Regions from separate parts of the Homo sapiens genome. Here region 2 is linked to region 1. The links are contacts of gene promoters, found by promoter capture Hi-C in blood cells and fetal thymus (Javierre and others, 2016). All regions are on one chromosome and are shown on one strand. The core of a region is centred on a gene start or on the middle of the fragment in contact, and the rest is flanking DNA. Distances in the headings are between cores, read along the strand shown. Region 1 holds the start of CCDC85A (coiled-coil domain containing 85A). Region 2 has its middle 500 kb from the start of CCDC85A.

What was found. Contacts are between HindIII fragments. The CHiCAGO score rates a contact against its expected background, and 5 or more counts as called.
Region 2: a contact is called between a fragment that was not itself captured here and the fragment with the promoter of CCDC85A in region 1, in 1 of 17 cell types (endothelial precursors). The highest score is 5.2, in endothelial precursors.

The regions. Positions count from the first base shown.
Region 1 is chr2:56,180,969-56,185,587 of GRCh38, forward strand. It overlaps CCDC85A (coiled-coil domain containing 85A), which reads left to right and starts at 3,022. Exons shown (of 6, transcript NM_001080433.2): 1 at 3,022-3,932. The coding sequence starts at 3,657. The region is part of intron 1 of LOC100129434 (a long non-coding RNA gene); the gene reads right to left. RefSeq lists a silencer at 2,692-3,021. The HindIII fragment of the contact is 6,654 bases long and covers 2,409-4,619 here.
Region 2 is chr2:56,683,616-56,688,919 of GRCh38, forward strand. No RefSeq gene overlaps it. Among named protein-coding and RNA genes, the nearest start is that of CCDC85A, 500 kb to the left of the region's middle. The HindIII fragment of the contact is 1,871 bases long and covers 1,250-3,120 here.

The DNA.
Region 1 (4,619 bases), core at 1,772-4,271:
TGGTTTTCAGAAATCTCCATTTAATATACCCAACTTAAAACACTGTCCTAGCTTCCCTTGCAGCTGGGAGGTGATTATATGGTAAGCTCTGCCTATTAGAACATAAACAAAATTCACTGGGTCAATTACCAGGATTTTTTTTTTTTTTTTTGAGACAGGGTCTCACTCTTTCGACCAGAGTGGAGTGCAGTGGCACGATCCTGGCTCACCACAACCTCCGCGTCCCAGGCTCAAGCGATTCTCCTGCCTCAGCCTCCCGATAGCTGGGATTATAGGCACGCACCACCATGCCCAGCTAATTTTTGTATTTTTAGTAAAGATGGGGTTTCACCATATTGGCCAGGCTGGTCTTGAATTCCTGACCTCAAATGATCCACCTGCATCGGACGCCCAAAGTGCTGGGATTACAGTTATGAGCCACCGCCCCCGGCCACCAGGAAAAGTTTTTAAAGGGGCATGTGCCCCTTTGCAGTTGTTATTACCTTCTTCCTGCCTTACACGTAGCTGGATGGCTAGAGTTCCACCAACCATGTTATGGACACGAGGCAATCATCCCAAAGGGGACTGAGCTGAGAGAAGGAGCCTAAGATTTTGACGACCTCATGAAGATACCATACCAGCCCTCAGCTGCCTCTCTTTAGAATACCAGGTAGGTGAGAAAAAATAAATGACTTTTTTAAAGTGACTGTTTTTTGAGTTTCTGTTTTTAGCAGTCAAATGAAGCTCCTGACACCATACATGACCTTAGCAACATGAAGCAACATTATTCATTCATGCAGATAATTATTATTCTGAATCAATGACCAAAATTAGAAACATGAAAACCTTAAGGTGATCTAGCTCAACTGTAATCCACTGCTAGTGTATATAATTTGTGGAGACTTTTTTTTTTTTTTTGGCTTTCCTTCTTCCTTGTCTTCCCAACACAAGTCTAATTTTTCCTCTCAGCCATCTCTCTGATTTCTCATATCTATTTGGTGTTAACTGATCAGAGGGAGTTAGCAGAGAAGGGGGCTGGCTGTTTCATTTTAGAATACGACTCTTGAAGAACCCGTGATGGAGGAATAAACAGAAGTCCTGGTTCCTATTTCTAGACAAGAGGCTGCCCAATGTAATATGTAATATCAGTAATAGTAAGGTTGCATTTCTGTAGGGTGGCTCGATCAAGCGCTTCTTGTATACCATATCATTAGCTGCCCGAGGGCCAGTAAGGTCGGATGGTTTGTTCAAGGACAAGAACTAACAAGTAACAGAGATAGGACTTATCTTTTTCTGACCTTCACTTTCCCTTTCTGTGACAAAACTGGTCTTAGGAACTGTGTTGAGCAGAGCCTTCTGTGGGCGTGAGAGCGGCTTGGAGGTGTCAAAGAAAAATTGCATCCGATATAGTTAAACAGACAAGGGGGAATTATTCAAGGCTATTGCAATAGGGAAGAGAGAGAGGGAGGGAGAGGGGAACTAGTAGAAGACTAGTGGAGGAGATTAGGATGGGAAGTTGGTCAGTGTAATGAGGCCATTTGTGTTTCCTAATTGGAACTTATTAAAGTTAGGCTCCTCCTCTCCACAAACACTAGGAGATAGGGACCCTTTTTTCCTTGATGATTACATTTCAAAGGGATGCCTCACAGATCCCTGAGAAAGATCCCCAGGCTGTAAAACCCAGCAAGAGGCGGAGAGATTTACATGTCAAAGGGTCAGAGGAAACATTCACCAATGGAAGTTGGCTAAAGTAAATGCTCTGAGAAAAGGAAGGTCTGGGGCCTACAGTTAGGAAGAAACCTGTCTAAAGTTTAGTTAAGCTGAGGGGAATGTTAAGGCCATTTGGTCACCGTAAGCAGTACCACATTTCCTTGCCTCTCCCGGGAGCCAGGTCTCAGTGTCCCCAATAGGGGACACGCACTGACCGGCGGGTGAAGGGACTGATTTTGATTATCATCCTACCAGATAGAGATTATTCCCTCTGCACCCGGGTTAACTGAAACCCGGTGGGGGTAGATCCTTGCCATTTTCCGGCCCTGTACCCCACTGGAAATAACATGCGGTGGTCAAGGGCATCCACCTCTTTAGGCAAAAGCATGTTTTCAGCCCAGAGACGATTCCACCCAACTTTACAAGAGGATAGCCCAAAGATAGAAGCCAGGGACTCAGACTTCCTCCTTCCAGAAATAACCATCATAAAAAAGCCGACCCAGTAAACGCCTGGCAGCCTGCGGCATAGAAGAAAATGGAAATCTCCTTGGCTGGCATTTCAGCTTGCCTGAGGGGGCTTGCTTTGCTCCGAGGGGAGGTGACTGTGCTGACCTTAAAATCCAGGTTTCAGGAAGCAGGAGATGAAGGTATTTTATTTTCGCCTAAAGGCTTTGATATTTTTCAAATAAAAATTTAAAAGATCCAGTACCTTCTCCCGAAGCTTCTTCATAGAGTAGTGGATTTTTAGAAAACACAAAGGCCTAGGGGTGGGGCGAGAGTGGGGGGTGGGGATGGGTAGCCCCATAAGAGCAGTGCCCTGACGCCTCTTTTCGCCCTTTTCAGACCATTTGGATTTTCTTAAGCTGCCCCTTTCCCCAACCCCCGTTTTTGCCATTTGCCTCTCCTCCCATTCTCCAAAGTGCAAATAACTGGTTATCCCTCAGGTCCTGCTACCCCATCTTTCCTGATCCCCGATCCCTCCAAATACGAAGCACCTCGCATTTGGGTCAGCAGCTGTTTCCCCTGCCTGGTGACAAGGCCGGTGTGCAGAGGGCAGAGGAGGGAGCTTCTTCCGCCACACGGTGGCGCGCGCGAGCCTCCCAAAGACCGGGCGGCCACAGCTCCTCACCTTCTCCCCATTCCAGCCCCACCCGCCCGGGCGCAGAAAGAGCCGCGCCCCCAGCCCTCCCGGGCAGGACAGCCGGGAGCGCACCTCGAGGGCCCGGGCAGCGGTCGAGTGGCAGCTGCGTCCAGCCCATGCGGGAGCTGCTGCGGGTTACGGGTGGCCCCAGCTCCAGGCTCCTCCTCCAGCCGGTCCCCCACCCTCCACCCCTTCTCGACTCCGCTCTGCAAATCGAAGGCTTTCCGGAGCAGCCTAGGAGCGGCCGCGGGCGCAGCGAAGGCGGCAGGAGGAGCGCAGCAGCCTTCGGGCAGCCGCGGCGGCGTCGCTAGAGCAGCCGGGGAGGCGCCGCGGTGCCCGGCGCGCCCTCCAAGCTAGGAGAGGGGAGAAGCCGGGGGCTGCAGCTGGGCAAGGGGGAGGAAAGTGCGTGTGCGTGCACGCCTGTGTGCAGGGCAGAGAGTGCGGGGGGCGACAGTCTCGGCTTAGGGCGGAGGAGAGGGCAGGGGAACGGCGGTGCAGCTCCCCCGCTGTCCCCGAGGATTTCCCGCGGCAGCCCCGGGCTCCCCAGTGCCCCTCACCATGGACTTGCGCGGAGTTGGGACGGGCCTCGGCAGCAGCAAGCGGCTGGCTGCCGGGCCCTGGGGGAGCGCGGGCGCGCGCGCGGGGATGGCGAGGTAGGATGGCCACCCAGCGCGACCCCCGCCGCCCCAACCCAGCGGCCCCTGGGCGGTGCCGCTGACTCGCCGGAGCGCACAGGGGTGTGGGCGGAGGCGGCCTCGCCGCGCCCGCGCCTTCGGGAGTCGCCTCGCCTCTTCCACCCACTTGCACCTGCCACCCCGCGGATACCATGTCGAAGGCGGCCGGAGGCGCGGCGGCGGCTGCGGCGGCGGCGGAAAGTTGTTCCCCAGCCCCGGCCGGCTCGTCCGCGGCCCCGCCCGCGCCGGTGGAGGACCTGTCCAAAGTGTCGGACGAGGAGCTGCTGCAGTGGAGCAAGGAGGAGCTGATCCGCAGCCTGCGGCGCGCCGAGGCGGAGAAGGTGAGCGCGATGCTGGACCACAGCAACCTCATCCGCGAGGTGAACCGCCGCCTGCAGCTGCACCTCGGCGAGATCCGCGGCCTCAAGGTGAGCGCGGGCCAGGTGGGGAGGCGCGGCGCGGCTGGGAGCGGGGTGCCCCGAGGAGGAGGCGGGGCCAGGCAAACTTTCCCTCCCTCCCTCAACAGGTGACCCTCCCCTTCTCCCGGTCGGCACCCCCTACCCCCAGTCCCCAGCCCCTGTGTAACTTTTCCAAACTTCGGAGGCGTCTGCTCCCCTCCTCTCCCCAACACGGGGCGCTCCACTGTCTGGCTGTTCGGGGAGGCGCTGAGGACGCTGGAAAGCAGGGAGGGAGGTGAAGGGCACGCGAACCTTTCATTTCTTAGGGAGGCTGGAAAATCTGTGCCTGGGGAGCCGGGTTTCAGTCAGTTAGGCGGAAAGGCCAGTGAGGGGGTGAATCCAGGGGATCTTCGCCTTGGAGGGTCGGGAATGCGGCTGCTCTGGGCCAGCAGCTCTTGGGCGGGCAGAGGGCGAGGAAAGGGCGCCACTGCCAGGGAGAGCGGCTGGCGGGGCGCCCGGGAGAAGCAGCGGGCGCCACCCTCAGAGCAGTCTTGTGTCACCGGGTACATAGGAGTTCAAGCTCTGCCTTCACGTCTTCTCCCAATTCCTGTGCTTTCCCTCTCCCGGAGTTTGGAAGGCATCCCCTGGAGTTGCCTTACTCCCCTTCCCACTTAACCCCAGGTTGACTGGGGGAAAGAGGAGGAGCAAAGAGACTCA
Region 2 (5,304 bases), core at 935-3,434, 500 kb after region 1:
ATGTTTATTGCGGCATTATTCACAATAGCAAAGACTTGGAACCAACCCAAATGTCCAACAATGATAGACTGGATTAAGAAAATGTGGCACATATACACCATGGAATACTATGCAGCCATAAAAAATGATGAGTTCATGTCCTTTGTAGGGACATGGATGAAATTGGAAACCATCATTCTCAGTAAACTATCGCAAGAACAAAAAACCAAACACCGCATATTCTCACTCATAGGTGGGAATTGAACAATGAGATCACATGGACACAGGAAGGGGAACATCACACTCTGGGGACTGTGGTGGGGTGGGGGGAGGGGGGAGGGATAGCATTGGGAGATATACCTAATGCTAGATGACGCGTTAGTGGGTGCAGCGCACCAGCATGGCACATGTATACATATGTAACTAACCTGCACAATGTGCACATGTACCCTAAAACTTAAAGTATAATAAAAAAAAAAAAGAAAAAAAAAACACTGTACACTTAGGCTATACTAATAAAAAATTCTTTCTTTAATGATAAAAAAAGAATAGATATTTTCTTAATTTTCTTATAAATAAACATAGGTTCTGTATGTTGTTTAAAACTGGAGTTGTCTGAAAAATATTTAGCACACATAAAAGTAAAAGAAAAAGGAAGCCCATTTCAGGAAGTATTAATTAAAATTGGCTTTGTAATAACCATGAAATTCACTTTCTTGCTTGATGGAGATACAGAACTTTTGATTTGAGTCATACGGACAATCTAGGATGTTGTGAGGGAGTACAGAAAGTATGCACCTGAAATGTAATAAACTTAGAAAGAAAAGATCTCTACTGACAAATCACTTTTATTTGACACCTCAGTGGTGAACACTGAGCTCTGACAGATTTGAAATTAGCATGTGAATTCATTTTGGTAAGTGAATAGGGAAACATTGTTTTGTCACACAATGATGATCTATTGAAGAAAGCAACCATTCTACCAGAAAACTTGCTTTCTTTGATGTATATGTATTCAATGGGGCAGAGCTTGACAGCTGCTTTATTTAGGAAAAAACACCATTAATACTGAAATTCTTAATGTATAGCTGCAACTGGTTTTTAGAGTCAAACATGGGCCCAATTTGAGCTAATATTGGTACAAAGACCCTGTAGCTCTCATTGCCGGACTACTTTACATAGTCTATAGGAATAGCTGTGTGATTTGACTCTATTCTGGGAGCTGGCTTTGATCAGAAATAATTTCTGTCATATAAACAATATTTTGATAAGCTTCCTATATTCCATGTTTGTACTATGATGATAGTTCATCCCCTTGGAATTATCAGTAGGATAATTGGGTCCTGAAGACCTGCTCAATTAGTGTTTTCTTTTATGAGGCACTCTATCCCTTGGAAAGCAGGGGCATTTACTACTCAATGCAGAACCTGAGACAAAGCATTACAAATCATAACTTATAATAACAAATGCTAATATTAAGATATTACAATTCATCCGTCAAAGGTCTATTTTTCAAAGATGGCTTTTTTTTAAGGCTTTGGTTTTTCTCCTTGGCAAAGTGAAGGCCTCTTCCCCATACTGGGCTCTAACATCCTCCAGGGTGGAGCACTGACATGAGACAGTCGGAAAAAGCCATGTGACTACCCCGGTCTGAGGGGCTATTTGCCTTGTAGCTTTTAAAAGCAAGGTCAGAGTTTCTGTCACTATTTTCACAGTTGGACTCCAACTTGAGATTCACAGAACAAATCACAGGAGGCAACCACAACCAAGTCTTGTTCTCCGTGTACTGGCCTCTGCCTGAGGCAGCCATTTTGTCAGTGTCTGCATTTTACCTCCTCTCAATACATAGCGGGGAGAATAGTTGCTGCTAAATGAGTTCATAAAAATTCAAAGGCAGTTGACAGAAAAAATAGTTGGTCAAAAGAAGGAAAATTTATGATAAGAGTTTATTTGCAAAATGAAAAAAAAACCTGGGCTTTCACTTTCCAGGAAAATTTGTGAAGTGCTGTTTTCTTTGACTGATACATCATTACCTTAAGCGAAATTGAGGAATTGAAGCAATTCTGTAAACATTATAGGCAAAGCCGTCAATCAGGGTTTTACCTCATATACAGAAATAAACTCTTTTGTGTGTGTGTGTGTGTATAGATAATTTAATTTTTGCCTTTTGAATAATTAATGTGAAAGCTCCTGTTTTAACCCAGTTCAGGTTTTGGTTTGCTTCTGTCACATTTGTGGCAAGTGCTTTGTTACAATTGGAAAGTGGTTTTTGCTCACTTTTTCTTGTACTCCATTTATAAGTCAAACTCAAAGGAATGTATTTTTTAGCAAGTAACCAGAGACACTCTGAAAATCGAAAAGATGAAATAACTGCTAAAGACTGAGGGAGTCAAGGGGTGTTCTGATAACCTGTAGCTCCCAGGGCAGACATTAGGGCTGTCCTGACTGGTCCACTTACCACCCCCTTCAAAACTGCAAGCCTCCTGTCTGCCAGGCCAGAGAGAAAGACAAGACAAGTAAAGGAGAAGGTTACACAAACATATGGGAGGGTAAAGAGAACATCAAAATCATAATGTGATGGGCGTGCAATGGAATTTGGAGTCCACTGGTTCAGTATTTCTTAAATCATTATCTGAGGGCTGCCTGGAAGAATTACCACTCCTCTCCACTGAATCAGGCTTCATGCAGTTGTAGGCCTAGGTACAAGCACACCAGGGAATTTTAAAATACATGTTAATAGTTGCAAATCACTGATACTGATCCAATGTTTCTTTAAAAACTATTGATTTAATTTGGTCACATCATCATCAATATCATAATGGATAGAGTTTATTGATAATTTAGATTTGCAGGGCACTGTGCTTTGTAAGATTTACCTTTAACCTTTGCAATAATCTATAAATTAGAGTCACATAAGCTATTGCAAGTAAAAGGAAATATCAGAGGAACTTTTCCAAGTTTTACAACAGTTAGTTAGGGACAGAATCGGAATTAAATCTGTCTTCTGACTCTAGAGTCTTTACTCTTGAATGCTTTGTAGATTAAAAAATATGCTTTCTGTAGAGACTCTAAAGTAGGGTGAATAAATAGGAAATGTTAAAAAAATACCATTAACTTGAATACCTGAAAGATAGTCTGGAAAGCTTAATCTCATCTAGTCTGTTGTATTAACAGAAATGTTGGAGTTGGTCACGAGGTAGAAAAAAGGAACATGGGGATATGGAACATAAAATAAGACCATCCTAAATTCTCTAAAAATTTCCTAAGGAACTTGGAATCTGCATTGGCAAATGACAAGTGAAGAATAGTAAAGAGTCTTTTGAGTGATTGGGAAAGATAATTTTAGTTCCAAATTTAGAATTCGCATTTTCTTAATATTCTTTCCATTCACTTTGTTAGGTTCCACTCTGTTTGCTGAAAGTACCTGGCGTAATACTACATCACAGGGTTAGATTTTAAAAAAAATATTTGCATTAGGCCATAAAATAGTCCTACTGCCCTGAGATGATTAGTGTGCAGCAGATCCAGCACAAAATGGTTCAAATAGTTCAAAGGAGTCATAGCTTAATATGAGCATAGTTTTGATTTAACTCTTCCTATAGATATGCCCTCTGTTCAAGGACCTTATGCTTTTATAATGTATGTGACATCATCAGTACATGTTTATCATAGAACTTTGTGATAAGTCCTTTGTGTCATTCCAGGGCTTTTGCAGCTAAGTCTTGTTGAGTGCCAAGGAAACTAGTTGTAAAATTGAATCTGACAGCTGTTAATATTCCTATTCACTGAAAAAGTGCATTCCGTTAGCATAAGTCACATAGGATACTTTGTGAAAGGGTTTCATGATCACAGACATTTTGGAAATTCCATATGATACTCCACTCCTTGCAAATTTACAATGCATACTTCAGTGTATTACAAGTTAGGAGAAATTCTTTGTGAAATTAATTTTATCTTTGCTAAATCCAGAATTTCACAAGTTTATTTCACATAGAACTCTTTTCTGCACATATTTCGTATATAATGTGGAATTAATATTCAATTAAATACCAGATGGGAAAAACTGTATTGGTGTTTTAATATAAAAATAAAGTATTTGTTGGAGTATAATACTACCTCCTTCCTCTCTTTCCTGTCTTGCAATTAATTATAAAAAGTCATCTTTCTAGCTCTTCAGATTTATCATGATGTCTTGATAGACAAGAAGCCTCTTTAGGTCCTGTGGAAACAATGATAAGACTGCATTTTAGAGAATATTTTATTCAGGGAATGTGTAAATGGAACATTTAAAAATATAAAAGATTTGCAAGATCATCATGAAATTATACCAAAATACATTTAATATATGCTTTGTTAGTAAATGCTATATTAAACAGTGGCCTGTGCTGGAATGAATTACTGTCATAAGTCATAAGAAAGACCTGGTTTCAAACCATAGCTCTCCACAATGTTATTTTATGCCCTGGGACGATTTCTCTAACCTCCTCATTTGTAAAATGTGGTTGAAAATGACTAATTTATAGGTGTGTGAAGAGGGTGTGGATGTATTCTATGTAAAACACCTTGAGAGAAAAAAATTATAGAAGTGAAAATATAAAAAGACAATGAGGCCAGCTGATATTTTACTTAATATAAGTATATTTTTCTTTTATGTGTGTATAAAACATGTTTTATTATATTAAACATAAAAGTTGTTTCTACATTCTACTAAACACCCTGATGAAAAATTAAAACAAAATTAACCAATCACTGCTAATTATGTAGACAACCAGATGTTTGACGTTGAATAGATAAACATCTGGTTCACAAATTTAGTTTTTTACTTTTCATATGCAAGTTGGGATGATGCTGATTGATGTATATTTCTGTAAAAATTTTTCAAAGTAACAGGCATGTGACTGGTACAAAATAAATAAGGTATGGAGCAGGGAAAACATTCTAATTTTAGGTTAATTTTAATCTCAGAATTAATATTTACTCTTCAATTTCATATCCCATTCAATTAATTGAACAATATTGTAACTTTATGATATACCAAGTCCTGCATTAGACAATATGGACTTAAAAATAAACAAAATAATCCTGCATAGAGATAGATCATATTAGAAAGAAAACAAATTCTTGCAACAATGAAAATTTAACATTAGCATTGAAGTAGCATCAGGGTGCCACAGGCATACAAGTAGGCTCCTTTGCCCTCTTCTAGCTAGAGGAATTGGGTAGGAGAAGAAATGTCTGGGAAAATTTCCAAGGTGAAGACGATATTGGGGTTGAGTAATAAGTATAAGCTGAAAGGAGGAGGAGGTGATGGGCATTCAGGGAGCT